Linked DNA regions of Homo sapiens: regions 2, 3, 4 and 5 are each linked to region 1. Evidence: promoter capture Hi-C in human tissues and cell types (Jung and others, 2019). All regions are on one chromosome and are shown on one strand. Each heading gives the region's core, a stretch centred on a gene start or on the middle of the fragment in contact. The rest is flanking DNA. Distances are from core to core; before and after follow the strand shown. Region 1 holds the start of NPAP1 (nuclear pore associated protein 1). Region 2 overlaps LOC105370733 (a long non-coding RNA gene). Region 3 overlaps SNHG14 (small nucleolar RNA host gene 14). Region 4 has its middle 38 kb from the start of PWRN1. Region 5 has its middle 17 kb from the start of SNHG14.

Region 1 (2,705 bases), core at 92-2,591:
GTAAGTGGTCAGGGGCAGGGAGTCTGTGGTCTGCACAGGTTGGGAGAAAGAAGGGGCAGGCTGGGTGATGCTGCTGTTTGTCATGGTCTCTGTTTTATCCTCCAAGATTCTGCTATTCCTTTTATACTCAGGGCTCTTCTCCAAGGTGTGTAGGTCTCCCTCAACAGACAGGCAGGGGAGCTTAGCAGGTGGGGGAAGCTCACCTCGATCCCACAGCAATGGCAGTGAAGGGGGCAGCGGCAGCAGCAATGGAATCGACATTTTCCTTTTGCAGGGCCTGTTGCGGGCAGCTCTGGGAGGAGCAGCGCTCCTTGGAGGAATACAGAAAGGCTTCTCATCAGGCATCCTCTTTCCGGACATCAGCGGAATCGGCAAGCCTAGGGAGCTGGGCGGTGGCTCTTCATTCAGCACTTCCGCAGCCAACTTCTGCTGCAGCAGGGAGCAGCCAACGGCTGGCTCAGGGGGCGCTGTTGCATCCGGATCAGGCTTTCCAAGATGCCGGGCACATCCGGCCTGGCTGTGTGTGCTGGGCATGGCAGGGCCTTCCAAGCAGGAGCTCGCTGGAGACGCCTGGGCCTTCTCACTCATGCTGTTTTCTGAGAACTTGTGGTAGACATTTCCCTCCAGAGGCCCAGGGCTGCATCTGAAGGAGGCCACGTCTCCCTGGGTGCCCTGGGACCTGGATGTGGACGATGCTTCTCCGCTGCTAAGGGGGGTCCTTTTCTCGTCATCCTCCCCTTCGATCTGCACCGGATCCTCATCCTTCTTCACTCTTCTGGGCCCTTCTTGGGCCCACACCTCGGTCTCCTCCAGGAGAGTGGCTGGGATGGGCTTCCTGGCCTTGACCGCCGGCTCACGTGGTGAAGGCAGCAGGAGAGTGAACATGCGGCTGGGAGGAGGGATCCTTACGGAACTGGGGTGTCCAAACCTCGGGGGGTTCCGAGCAGGCAGCATGGGTGTCTTCCTGATGGCCAGCCCCCAACCCACAGCCGGCAGGACCCCCAGAGGGGCGGCCGCAGCCCGAGGGAGAGGACACGGCCTCTTAGGGGCGACGAAGATGCTGGCTGCTGAAGGCCTGCGACGGGCGTTCCGGCGGAACAGGCCGCGGAAAGGGCGCGGGGTGGGTACAGAGTGAGCCCGACCGGGCGGGGAGGCGTCCCGGGACAGGGGAGCGGGGGCGCCACGCCCTGGCCCTGGCAGGGGCCGGCGGCGGCACCCGGGTCTAAATTTACTAAGTAAATTGCCCATTTAGAGCTAGCCGTGCCTCCTACCGTAAAACAGGGTCAGCAGTGGACTCAACTCTCCTCAGCCACCGCCTCCTCTGGCGACCAAGCACAAACTGACTGGCTCTACGCCTGCGACGCCGCCGCGAGGTTCCTCACAGAACCAGGGAGCGCCAGCGGGGGCGCAAAAGGCAGGGGTCAGAGGGCAAAGGGCGACGCCCCGTCGGCCCCAGCTGCCCCAGGACCCCCGGAAGCCCCGCTGCCGGTGGCAGGTGTTGCACCGCGTGGCCTCTATGAGGGAACTGCTGGGGCCTGCGGGCCCATCGCCAGAGCTCTTGTCACCTGGGCGCCGGCTCTGCCTGTTCCTTAGCCCTGGCCCGGCGCTGTTGCACGCAGTGGCCCTGTGTCGGCCGTCCCCATTCCCCGGTTCACAGAGGGCACATCTGCTTCAAGTTAAGCACAGGACAACCTATATCCTGCCAGCCTCCTCTAGGACCTTGGCAGTGCTCTGTGCTGCCTGGAGCCAGGTGTGCCGTCTCTGTGGCGCCAGGGTCACCAGCCAGGCCGTGAGGGTTTCCGAGGAGGGGACGTGGTGCCTTGTCCTGACTAGATGCTACGCCCTACCACATCTCTTCCTGGCAGGCAGGGCCTCTTCACTTCTTTTCACAAATTTGTTTTAAACAACATTTAAGGCTGGGCGCGGTGGCTCACGCCTTTAATCCCAGCACTTTGGGAGGCCAAGGCGGGTGGATCACCTGAGGTCAGGAGTTCGAGACCAGCCTGACCACCATGGTGAAACCCCATCTCTACTAAAAATACAAAAATTAACTGAGCGTGGTGGCACGCACTTGTAATCCCAGCTACTAGGGAGGCTGAGGCAGGAGAATCGCTTGAAAGCGGGAGGTGGAGGTTGCAGTGAGCTGAGATCACCTCACTGCACTCCAGCCTGGGGGAACAGAGCAAAACTCTTGTCTCAAACAAAAACAAAAACAAAAAACCACAACAAACAACAGCAACAACATTTAAGCCTTAGGCTGCTTGCTCCTTGGGTCATTGATATGACAGTGGCCTAGCCAGGCTTCGAACCTGGGCTGTGTGATTCCAGAGCTGGTGCCGTGGCCTGTGTGCCTCCTTGTTATGGACACATCATGTATTCTCATTATTTCCTGTAGTCCTTAGGGTACCTAGCACACAGCACATCTGTATTAAGCACATGCGTTCCTAGGGGGAAGCCCTTACTTCACCTCATAAGTTGGTCATGGCAGGCACTGGGCTCCAGTCTCCTCTGAAGACATGGGGCAGCGACCCCCAATAGTCAGCAAAGCAGCATCCCACACTGTTCTTCTAATTGAGCCTTGCAGCCCAGATTTCCTTTTTGGTCTAGTTTGAAGGATCTAAATATGTAAAGATTATAGTCCAGATCCATTTTGGCCTATCCCGAAAGAAATTCACCAGTGGATTAATCCAAATGGATAAGCCAGT
Region 2 (2,705 bases), core at 135-2,634, 180 kb after region 1:
TAACCATTCGAGATAAAGTAAATGATGTGTATAAGTCGAATGAACCAACCAAGTGGACACATACCTACTCTTACTATACAATTTTCATACAGGTGGCTGATAAACTCACTATATTATAAAATAATGAAAGTGCAGCTTTCTATTTATAAGAGCAGAACACAATTATCAGAAAAATAAGGATTAAAATATTTTTACCCCCATTTATTTCCCTATAAAACCTTAAGTTTGCTTTATATTTGGAAAATAATTTGTCACTTTCTTCACTACATAAATTCCACTGCCATTCTAGTTTGCATGGAGTATAGGATTGCTATTTTTATGCAGTAAAATTAAGTTAAATGGTGCCAGGCTGCAATATAAAAATGAGGGGTTGTTATTATTGTTATTTTAATCAAGATCTGTCATTGAAATTCTCTGTGTATAGTATTGAAGCTAAGAGACCCTGACTGCAGCCCTAACTGGAAAATCAAATGCCCATCTACTGATTTGGAGCACTTGTTAAATATCAGTGTTCACGCTCTCTTGGTTGCTCACATCTCATAAATCTTGGACAAATGTCCCCTATGTCCCCAGAATAATTTTAGAGCATTATATTGATTATTACCTTTCTTGTACAGTAGGCATATGTTATTGAGTTTCAACGACTCATTCTGTATGAATGCTTCACTCACAAGAGGATGTGTTGTCAACATAGTCGTGTTGGAATTAAGGCACTCCTCACTGCAAGCTCTCAATAAATTCTGGTCTGTTTGTTGGAGTCCTGCTAAATTATATCTGAAAATGGGGCTTTTTGAGACATGCGAGTAATAGGCATCTGTCTTTCAAAAACTGGTTACGTAGTTAGCACCAGATGCTAAAACTGGTGAGTGAAAAATGCGGAATATGATGAAGAAGATGAAAGAGGATGAGTCTCTGGAACTTGGGGGGATCTTCCTGAAGCAAGTGTACCTGTGTTCGAGTTGGTAAATCAATATGGAAAGATGCTTTGCTATTCTCTCTCTACGTGCCCTTTCATCTCCTGAGCTGAAGGTATTCTGTTTGTGCTTTGAGATTATTTTCATATCACATTTAATGCTTTTTTCAAAAACATTTTTTCTTTGAAATAATTTTAAATACACAGAAATATGCAAAGATACTACAGAAAGCTTTAGATATCTTTGAATTACATGCAATGTAATAGATTATGTAACCATGAGCCCTAAAAAACAGTTGGCACAAAACTATTTATTGAAGTATAGGCTTTTTCCATATTTTACTAGGCTTTTAAGTAATGTCATTTTTCTGTCCAGGATACCACATTGCATTGACTGTCAGGTGTATTATTTACTGCTGAATAATAAATTCTCACACACTGAGTGGCTCTTACTCACAGTTTCTCTGTATCATGAATCCAGATGTAGAGGATGGCCAAGGACGAGGTCTCAAGCGAAGGTTCAGTTGGGGAAGGCTCCTCTTCCAAGTTCGTGTGATTGTTGTTAGGAGTCAAGGCCCTGTGCTGGTTGAGATGACTTCACTGGTGAACTATTCTAAACCTGAAAATAATTAATAACAATCTATCACAAACTCTTCATAAAAACTTAAACAACAGTAAAAGTGGAGAAGAGATCACTTCCTGATGTATACTATTAGTTTACACTGATATTAAAACTAAAGCAAGACATCTCAAGAAAGAAAAATTAAGACCAATATCTTTTATAAATAGAGGGTAAATGTCTTCAATAAAATGCTAGCAATACAAATCAGCAAATGTAAAAAGAATTATACACCATCACCAATGGTATTTGTCCCAGGAATGCAAATTTGGTTCAACATACAAAATAATTAGTGTCATGACCTATAAGAATAAAATAAAAAACAAAAGCCATATGATCATCTCAAAAGATGCAGGAAAGGCACCTGACAAATCTAAAATCCATTTTTGATAACAGTATACAACAAATTAAGCCTATAAGGAAAGTTTCTTTATTTTAAAGGGCATCCATGAAAAACTCAGTATCATCATAATTTAATTTAAAGGCTCAATAATAGCATAAACTTGGACATACAGATCAAAGGAATATGGTAGAATTGAATGTCCAAAAATTAATCTTTACCTTTATAGTCAAATGATTTTATAAGTCTGCCAAGCCAATTCAATATGGAAAAATATATTTTAACAAATGTTGCTAGGACAATTGAATATCCACAAGGAAGTTGAACTTCTCACTCACACCATATACATAATTGGCTCAAAGTAATCATATATCCAAATGTAAGAGCTAAATAGACCAAACCCTTAGAAGATAATATAGAAATACATAATTTGGGTCTTAGCTTAAACAATAACTCCTATAATTTCTAAGATATGATACTTAAAGCCCAAGAAAAGGAAATTAAAAAATGAATATATTTAACTTTGTAAGAATTAAAAATTTCTGAGATTCAAAGTACATAATTAAAAGTGAAAAGATAACACAAAGAATAGAAGAAAATCTTCACAATCACATAGCAGAAAAGAATATATTAGCCACAATATATAAAATATTTTACAACTCAAAATAAAAAGGCAAATATCACAATCAAATTGGTGAACTATCTGAATAGACATGTATCCAAAGATACTATAGTCACATCTAGTAAGCACATGATATGAGGCCTAAGTCTTTTGTCATTAGGAAAATGCAACTCTAAACAACCATGAGATACATTTCACAAATCTAAAGGGT
Region 3 (2,705 bases), core at 143-2,642, 180 kb before region 1:
AGCTTGCAGCAAGCCGAGATCGCGTCACTGCACTCCAGCCTGGGCAACAGAACGAGAGTCATCTCAAAAAAAAAAAAAATCAGACAACTTCCTAATGAAGTATGTCAATGTCATGAAAGACCAGGAAAGTTGAAGGAAGTGTCAACAGCTTATGAAGCATAAAGAGGAATGACATCTAAATATGATGTGTCATCCTGGATGGGATTCCAGAATCAAAAAATGGACATTAAGTGAAATTAAGGACATGTGAATAAAGCATGGATAGCAGTGAATGATAATGTTTAACATTGGTTCTTAATTGTAACAAGCGTAACACACTAATGTTAAGATTTATAATAAGGAAAACTGTGTGTGGTATATGTAAACTCTTTATATTACCAATTTGTTCTGTGAGTCTAACACTATTCTAAACAGAACAAGTTTTCTAAAAGCACTGTCAAGCTTAACAGACCATTAGCAATATATTTGGAATTCCCTATTTGTCATTACCTGATTTTTAAAAATTATTTTTCTCTGTTATTTTTTCTTTTCTCTCTTTTTTGTTGAGATATGGTCTCACTCTCTTGCCCAGGTTGGAGCGCTATGGCACAATCACAGCTCAGTGAACCTTGACCTCCCAAGCTCAGGCCACCCTCCCAATCCTCCCACCTCAGCCTCCCGAGTAGCTGAGACTGCAGACATATGCTGCAACACCTAGCTAATTTTTTGCATTTTTTTTAGAAACAGCGTTCTGCCATGTTGCCCAGATTGGTCTTGAATTGCTGAATTGCTGGATTCAATTAATCTGCCCACCTTCACCTCCCAAAGTGTTGGGATTATAGGCATAAGCCACTGCGTCCAGCCCTATGTTAATACTTCTAACTAATATGTTATTCTGTTTTTCTTGTTTTCTAATTTGGAAAAATATGTTTAATTTACACATTGTTTCTAGTCTAATTATGAGAAACCATCAGACAAATACACATTGTGGGACATTCCACAAGATATCTGACTGGTATTTTCACAAGGGTCAAAGTCATGAAATATAAGTGGTGACTGAGAAACTTTTGCAGAATGAAGAAGACCTGATTTGGCAGGTAGACCCTATGATGATGCCCAATGATCGCCTAAGTTTCCATCTTAGGAACCTAGAAAAAGAAGAGCAAATTAAATTTCAAGTAAGCAGAAGAAAAGATATAATATTGTAAAGACAGGATACACGAAATAAAACACAAAACAACTGGATTTTTCAAATGTGTGTTGATAGGTTTATAGTTTGCTGAACACTGGAGTATCCAACATTAACAGGGAAAACACAACACCCCAAGCATACACCTTACTTAAGAACATGTAGTTGTGACATCCATGAAATGAGGAGACACTAATCTTCATAAATGATCAACGAAGAAAAACTAAAGTGTGATAATTTCATTTGTTTACCAAGCTGACAACATTTTAACTATGACTAATCCACCATTAAGTAATTTATGTAAGTAACTTTTTCTATGATATAATGTAAAAGTCATATGTGATAGAATAAAGTTACAATACATGTCATCATCTGAGACGCACAAAATAACCGAGGGGAAAGGAACCTGCATTCAGGGTGGGATGGGGCGAGTCTCAGTGATGGAGAAAGGGACATGAACAGGAGCATCCAAGTTCCCTTAGTTGGCCCGTACTGGATCTGGAGGGTCCTCTCTGTTCCTCTTCACTCTCCCTTCTTCCTAGAACCAATTCCTCATAATGCACAGGGACCTCCTCAGACACAGAGGCTATCCTCACTCTTCTTGACCTGGAGGTACTGTTGCAAGGAACGAGACTGATATTTGAACTACCAGCACAACAAATGCATTCCTTAGTGGGCTGGCCGGCCCTGTGTCACTTCCTGACCTGCCCACTCTCCCCTTCACAGCCTCTCCATGGTCTGCCCTTCCCGCTCCTGCCCTCCTTACATGTTGCTAATCCCAGCAGTCCTTCTAATCCACTGTCCCCTTCTCATGCCCTGGCCTGTGCCACAGACACATTTTTTCCTCTTCTCTTTCTCCTGTTTGCCAGATTCACTGCTCCACGCTCTCCAGAACCTCCTCCAATGTTCCTCCTCCTAGAGGCCTTCCTTGTCCATTCCATTTCAGGTCTGATGCCTGTGCTCTCAGCTCCCAAAAGTTTTGTAACCCAAAACTCCTACATTTGAGATTTGGGTTACAGTCCTTGAATCACTACTGGACTGAAATATCAGAGGTTATTTTGTCCATGTTGTTCACCTATGAGCCCCAAACATGCACTGGGCAAAACCCAAAACAGAATATTTTCCTTTATTTTAAATTTCACAAATTATTTAATGAATCTCTAAAACTTCCCCCCACCAGCCTGGGCAACAAAGTGAGACACGTCTTTACAAAAAAATAAAATAGGCAGGGCTTGGTGGCATATGCCTGTGGTCCCAGCTACATGGGAGGCTGAGGTAGGATAACTGCTAGGGCCCAGGAGGTAGAGGCTGCAGTGAACAGTGTATATGCCACTGCACTCCAGCCTGGGCAACAAAATAAGACCCTGTTTCAAAAAAAGAAAACAAAAAAAAAATAAAAACTCCTCACAGATATGGTTTCCTAATAAACTTAAATTTTCTTTCAAAGTGAAGAATGTGTGAATCTGAAGATGAACATGGTTCTTTTGCTCCCTTTTGCTTTTAGGACAGGAGTGAGCCCTGACTTCCCCCTCAGCCT
Region 4 (2,705 bases), core at 67-2,566, 160 kb after region 1:
TTAATAGACATAGTTAGCACCTGGCACATTTCCCACATTGGTTCCCTGACCTGTGGAGTGGGCGCTAGTATGGTGGGAATATCTAAATGGAAGGCACTAGAGCTGCCTCTACCTAGGAAAATAGAAAATCAAATTCATAACCACACCTCTGGAGTGACTGTAGAGATTACCACCACCATCAAGGACTGGAAGGATGCAGGGGTAGAGATTCTAACACATCCCTGTCTAACTTGGCCTGTGCAAAAGACAGATGGATCCTGGAGAGTGACAGTGGATTCCCACAAGCTAAACCAAGTGTTCCTTGTAATTGCAACTGCTATATCAGATGTAGTTTTATTGCTTGAGCAAATTAACACATTCCCTGATACCTGGTATGCACCTATTGATCTAATGAAGCTTTTTCTCTATTTCTCTTCATAAGGCCCACCAGAAGTCGTTTAATTTCAGTGTCAATAACTTCTCTGTCCTACCTCAACATAATATCAACTCTCCATAACAAAGTCACAGTTTGCAGGAAGTTGATCACCTTCTCCTTCCACAGGATACTACACTGGTCCAAGGCATTGATAACATTATGCAGATTTAAACTAGTGGATGTGCAGTAACAAGTACTCTGAACACTTATAAGGTATTTTCATTTCAGATAGTGGGAAATTCTCTAACTAGATCTCTTTTACCAAAAGCAAAAAGCAAACAAACAAACAAAAAAAAGGTATTAATGGCCCTATGCCAGAATAAGGGACTACAAGAAAACATGTAAATTGACTTCCACGAGGATAAAAGCCAGAGAAGGCAAGCAAATATTTCCTGAGTTAGACTCTCCCCATGAAGCCATGAAGAGCACTGTGACACCTGGTCTCCCCTGAGACCCAAAGCCTCTTTGACACCAGCAGTCTCTGTAATTGGCACACTGGCTCCCTAGCAGTAATCCCCCTGGGAAGTCTTCTTAAAAAGCAGAGGATATCCAGGATGGTTTGAAATTTCTCACAATTATTTTTTCAAAAATCCATAGCTATCCAGGTAGTTAAGGAGGCCCATGAGAGCTCACATTATGGTAGATAACCCTGTACAATTGGCTCCTTCAAACGATGACCACTCCCAACCTTGGAGACAGTGCAGCAAGTGACCCACAGTTGCTCTCTCTGCCACACTAACAGTCCCCATAACAGATCACCCTCAAGGCCTCATGTTAAGGAGTACAATTTAGGGGAATTTACCCTGGCAAGGACTGGCAAACACACTTTACGGTCATGCTCCAGACCCCCGGGAACTTTAGATACCTTCTAGGTGTGGTTGTTATCTTCCCACGATGGATAAAGGTGATCAACTCGCTCTGATACCACCTCGGAGGTATCATGCCATCTCTTAAAGGATATTTTTCCTGGGTTTGGGCTGCCTAAAACCATGTAGTGGACAAGTTTTTTTTTTTTCTTTTTTTTTTTTTTGAGATGGAGTCTCACCCTGTTGCCCAGGCTGGAGTGCAATGGCGTGATCTCAGCTCACTGCAGCCTCTGCCTAGCGGGTTCAACAAATTCTCCTGCCTCAGCCTCCAGAGTAGCTGGGATTACAGGTGCCCACCACCACGCCTGGCTGTTTTTTTGTATTTTTTAGTAGAGACGGAGTTTCACCATGTTGGCCAGGCTGGTCTCAAACCCCTGACCTTATGATCCGCCTGCCTTGGCCTCCCAAAGTGCTGGCATGAGCCAGCTTTGGCCTCCCAAAGTACAGACATGAGCCACCATGCCCGGCCAGTGGGAAAGCTTTTATATCTTAAATCACTCAAAAGGTAGCCCAAGACCTAGAAATCCCCTGAAAACTCCACACAGCAAGGAGACCCCAGGCCTCAGGAGAAGCAGAAAAAGCCACTTAAAGCTTAACGAGAACGTTGGCTAAACTGTGCTGGGAAACAGAGGAAAACTGACTCACTCTCTTACCATAGCTCTTCTGGACTCTAATCATCCGGTGGATGTGATCATGCATTCTCTGACAGTAGTCAGCCTCTTTTCCCAGGCACCTATGTCATCAGTCACCGGGCTTATGAATAAAGTGGCCACTGTGGTAGGGACTGAGGTTTTGCATACACACAGCAATCTGGAATTCCTTTCACCATGGCCAACCAGGTTACAGACCCCTCTGAGTGTTCCAACTGTCAGCAGCAGAAACTAACACCAAGTCTCTATATGGCACCATTCCCCAGGAAGATCTGCCAATTTCCTTGTGGTAGGTTGATTACATTGGGCAGCTTTCATCAGGGAAGGGGCAGCATTTTGTTCTTCCTGGAATAGTAAGACAGTTACTCCATCTATAAATTTTACTTCCTTGCATGCAAGTATTCTGTGGAAACTACCATCCATGGACTTAATGCCTATCTACCATCATGGTATTCCACACAGCATTGCTTCTGAACAAGGAACTCACGTCACAGACAAAGAAGGGTAGAAATGAGCTCATGCTCAGAAACTTCAGTGAATTCACCATGTTCCCTATAATCCTGAAGCAACTCACTTGAAACAATGGTGGAATGACCTTTGGGAGTTACAGTTCCAGCACCTGCTAGATGACAATATTGTGTAACTGTGGGGCAAGGTTCTCTAGAAGGCAGTATATGCTCTGAACCAGCATGCATTATATGGCGCCATTTCTCCCGAAGCAGTGTGGTCACAAACACTTCATCAGTCTCTAAGGACTCCCAAATATTTCCTATC
Region 5 (2,705 bases), core at 149-2,648, 130 kb before region 1:
TACATTTATTATTTTACTGAAAACTGTAAACAGTTTTAGTAGTAACTCACTGAATTGCAAGAAAACTATAGATATTTATATTATGGTCCATGTGTACAAGGAAATTACATGCATACATTTACAACAAGTTAGAAGGAATCAAAGACTTCAGCCATGTCTATAGCTTTTGGATAAAGAGTAACAGTATGATATTTATGCTTGCTCAGTGACAAAATGGCTATTCTTTGCATTCAGAATTGAAGATTCAGTATTCTGCCTGTATAAACTAATGCCTTGTGCATCTTCCACAATTATAACAAACTAAGCCATATAATGAAAACAATCATACCTCCTTTTTCAGCATTTAATTCTGAACAAATTTTGTCCTGTGGCTGTGAAAAAAGTCTCTGTTCTCCTTTTCAACCAGAGGTACTTCAGTGGAAATTCCTGGAAAACACGGAAAAAGGGTGTGTAGCATCTGCTTTTCCCAATAAAAGTCATATTCCTATTCTATTTAGGAAAATTTTATGACTGAAAAGATGAAAATAATTGAAAAGGTTTTATGAAAAATGGGTATAAGTGCATTATTAAATACAATAATGAAATTAATACACAAGACAAAAATATGAATTTGGTTGCAGAAATTGTTATGTGACCAAAACAAATAAAAATTAATACAAAGTGTTGAAAACTGTGTGCCAAAGCAAAAGCAAGAACAAACATTATCAGACAAGGTCTGAAGGGTAATTATCCTTGGTCAGCAAGCTCAGTCATTGTTGAACAAACTCATTCTTTATTAAAAACAGAATGAATACCCAAACAGATCACTTAGGGAGTGTTGGGAGCAGCTGGTTTTGCCCATGCAGGCCTCACAGAGAGCCCTCAGCTCAGCTTTGCCTGCCACAGCCAGGACTTTGATGGGTCATGGTCCAGAGGAGTAAGACCAAGTCCACTGAGGCTCATCCACATGAGCGGGATGCACCCAGGGATGACTCTCCAAGCTCCTGCCAATGTTTCTAAGGATAGAGAAAGCCCAGAGTGGTGGAAGAGAAGGCACAAAATCACATAAAATTCACTGATTTGTTACTGAAAAATAAAGTGGTAGTGAAGTTGGTTGGGGTTGTCTGAGAGTCACAAAGACGTTAGAGACATTAGTGTCAACAGTCATGTTCTGAAGTCTTAAACTCTATTGAAACAAAACAAAACAAAACAAAGTACACCTGGTATTTTTGGTTGGGGTGCAAGGAATGCAGGATCCTACTCTTTCATTTCTTCATTCTAGAACAGCACAGTGATGAAGAGAATGGACTCTGGAGGGAAAATTCTTGTGTAAAATGAAGTCTCTCAGTAACTGAGTTACTTTAGTATTCGCAGAAAAATACAGAAATAAACAAATGAAAAAAGAAAGCTCAAAAAAGGACAAAAGAATATGTAAGAAAAATAGTGTAAAGAAAGATAAATAGGGAATATTGATTTTTCAATATATGTTCCAAAAAATTAAATATCCGTAGGAGAAAATAAAATAGACATTTGATCTCACATTTCAAAATTAATCAATTCCAGATGGATCACTGACCTAGATATATATATATTTTGTGACAGAGCCTCGCTCTGTCACCCAAGCTGGCATGCAGTGGTACAATCTCAGCTCACTGCAACCTCTGCCTCCCAGGATCAAATGATTCTCCTGCCTCAGCCTCCTGAGTATCTGGAATTACAGGTGCACGCCACCATGCCTAATTTTTTTATTTTTAGTAGAGATGGGTTTCACCATGTTGGTCAGGCTGGTCTCGAACTCCTGACCTTATGATCTGCCTACCTTGGCCTCCCAAAGTGCTGGGATTATAGGCGTGAGCCAACGTGCCTGGCCGGACCTAGATATTTTTTTAAAAAAAATTAGTACGGTATTTAGGACCTAATTTAGGAGAATAGCTTCATGACCATGGGGTATATAAGATTTCTGAAACTAGATCTAGAAGGTTCTTATCACAAAATATATCGTAACATAGCTAATGTGAGCAAGGACTCTGGAGACAGACCCAGTCAAGCTCCAGCATCTCCTATTTTTTACTGAAGTGCTTTAGCTAAGATTCAGAACTGGAGCATGGAAGTGATAATATTGCCTACCTCTTGGGATGTTGTGAGGTTTAAAGGAACTAGTAATACATAGAGCACATAGACTAATGCAGGTCTATACTAACAACTAAATTAGAATTTGCTAATACTGACAGCTTTTCCTAAGTAATTACAAGATGCATCATTGGTAAAATGCACCATTATTTTTTTGCCACAAAAAATAAAACCACTGAAAAACTGTGACACAAATATTTATTATCACTTAGAATTTTTATATTATTATTGATTACAATTTTATTGAACTTAAATAAATGTGGAAAAGGGAATCCCTGTGGGTGGGAATGCAAATTAGTACAGCCATTGTGGAAAAAAAAATGAAGGTTTCAAAAAACTAAAAATAGAACTACCATATTATCCAGCTATTCCACTTCTGGGAATATATACACAGGAAGTGAATTCAACATGTTATTTATCTTATATCACTCCTATGAGTACATGAGATGAAAAATTAAAACAGGATACATTAACAGAGATAATCCTAAAATAGCTCTCATGAGATCAAACTCTTCTGAATCACTTCTCAACTCACCGTTTTCATGACTTTCCTCAAATTATCATCACCTGTGCTTATCATAAGCTTTGGCTTTGCC

What was found. Contacts are between HindIII fragments. The study calls those that stand out against the background at their distance.
Region 2: a contact is called between a fragment that was not itself captured here and the fragment with the promoter of NPAP1 in region 1, in 6 of the 25 tissues and cell types used here (dorsolateral prefrontal cortex, heart left ventricle, liver and 3 more).
Region 3: a fragment that was not itself captured here is called in contact with the fragment with the promoter of NPAP1 in region 1 in 2 of the 25 tissues and cell types used here (H1 embryonic stem cells and liver).
Region 4: a contact is called between a fragment that was not itself captured here and the fragment with the promoter of NPAP1 in region 1, in 4 of the 25 tissues and cell types used here (heart left ventricle, lymphoblastoid cells, mesendoderm cells and 1 more).
Region 5: a fragment that was not itself captured here is called in contact with the fragment with the promoter of NPAP1 in region 1 in 6 of the 25 tissues and cell types used here (H1 embryonic stem cells, aorta, hippocampus and 3 more).

What each region holds. Positions count from the first base shown.
Region 1 is chr15:24,674,411-24,677,115 of GRCh38, reverse strand. It overlaps NPAP1 (nuclear pore associated protein 1), which reads right to left and starts at 1,341. Exons shown (of 1, transcript NM_018958.3): 1 at 1-1,341. The coding sequence starts at 1,248. The HindIII fragment of the contact is 8,790 bases long and covers 1-2,705 here.
Region 2 is chr15:24,490,293-24,492,997 of GRCh38, reverse strand. The region is part of intron 2 of LOC105370733 (a long non-coding RNA gene); the gene reads right to left. Among named protein-coding and RNA genes, the nearest start is that of PWRN3, 51 kb to the right of the region's middle. The HindIII fragment of the contact is 7,283 bases long and covers 1-2,705 here.
Region 3 is chr15:24,850,773-24,853,477 of GRCh38, reverse strand. All of the region lies in intron 2 of SNHG14 (small nucleolar RNA host gene 14), which reads right to left. It also overlaps a transcript of SNRPN not described here. Among named protein-coding and RNA genes, the nearest start is that of SNHG14, 29 kb to the right of the region's middle. The HindIII fragment of the contact is 8,543 bases long and covers 1-2,705 here.
Region 4 is chr15:24,518,306-24,521,010 of GRCh38, reverse strand. It overlaps a transcript of LOC105370733 not described here. Among named protein-coding and RNA genes, the nearest start is that of PWRN1, 38 kb to the left of the region's middle. The HindIII fragment of the contact is 3,349 bases long and covers 1-2,705 here.
Region 5 is chr15:24,805,545-24,808,249 of GRCh38, reverse strand. No RefSeq gene overlaps it. Among named protein-coding and RNA genes, the nearest start is that of SNHG14, 17 kb to the left of the region's middle. The HindIII fragment of the contact is 8,494 bases long and covers 1-2,705 here.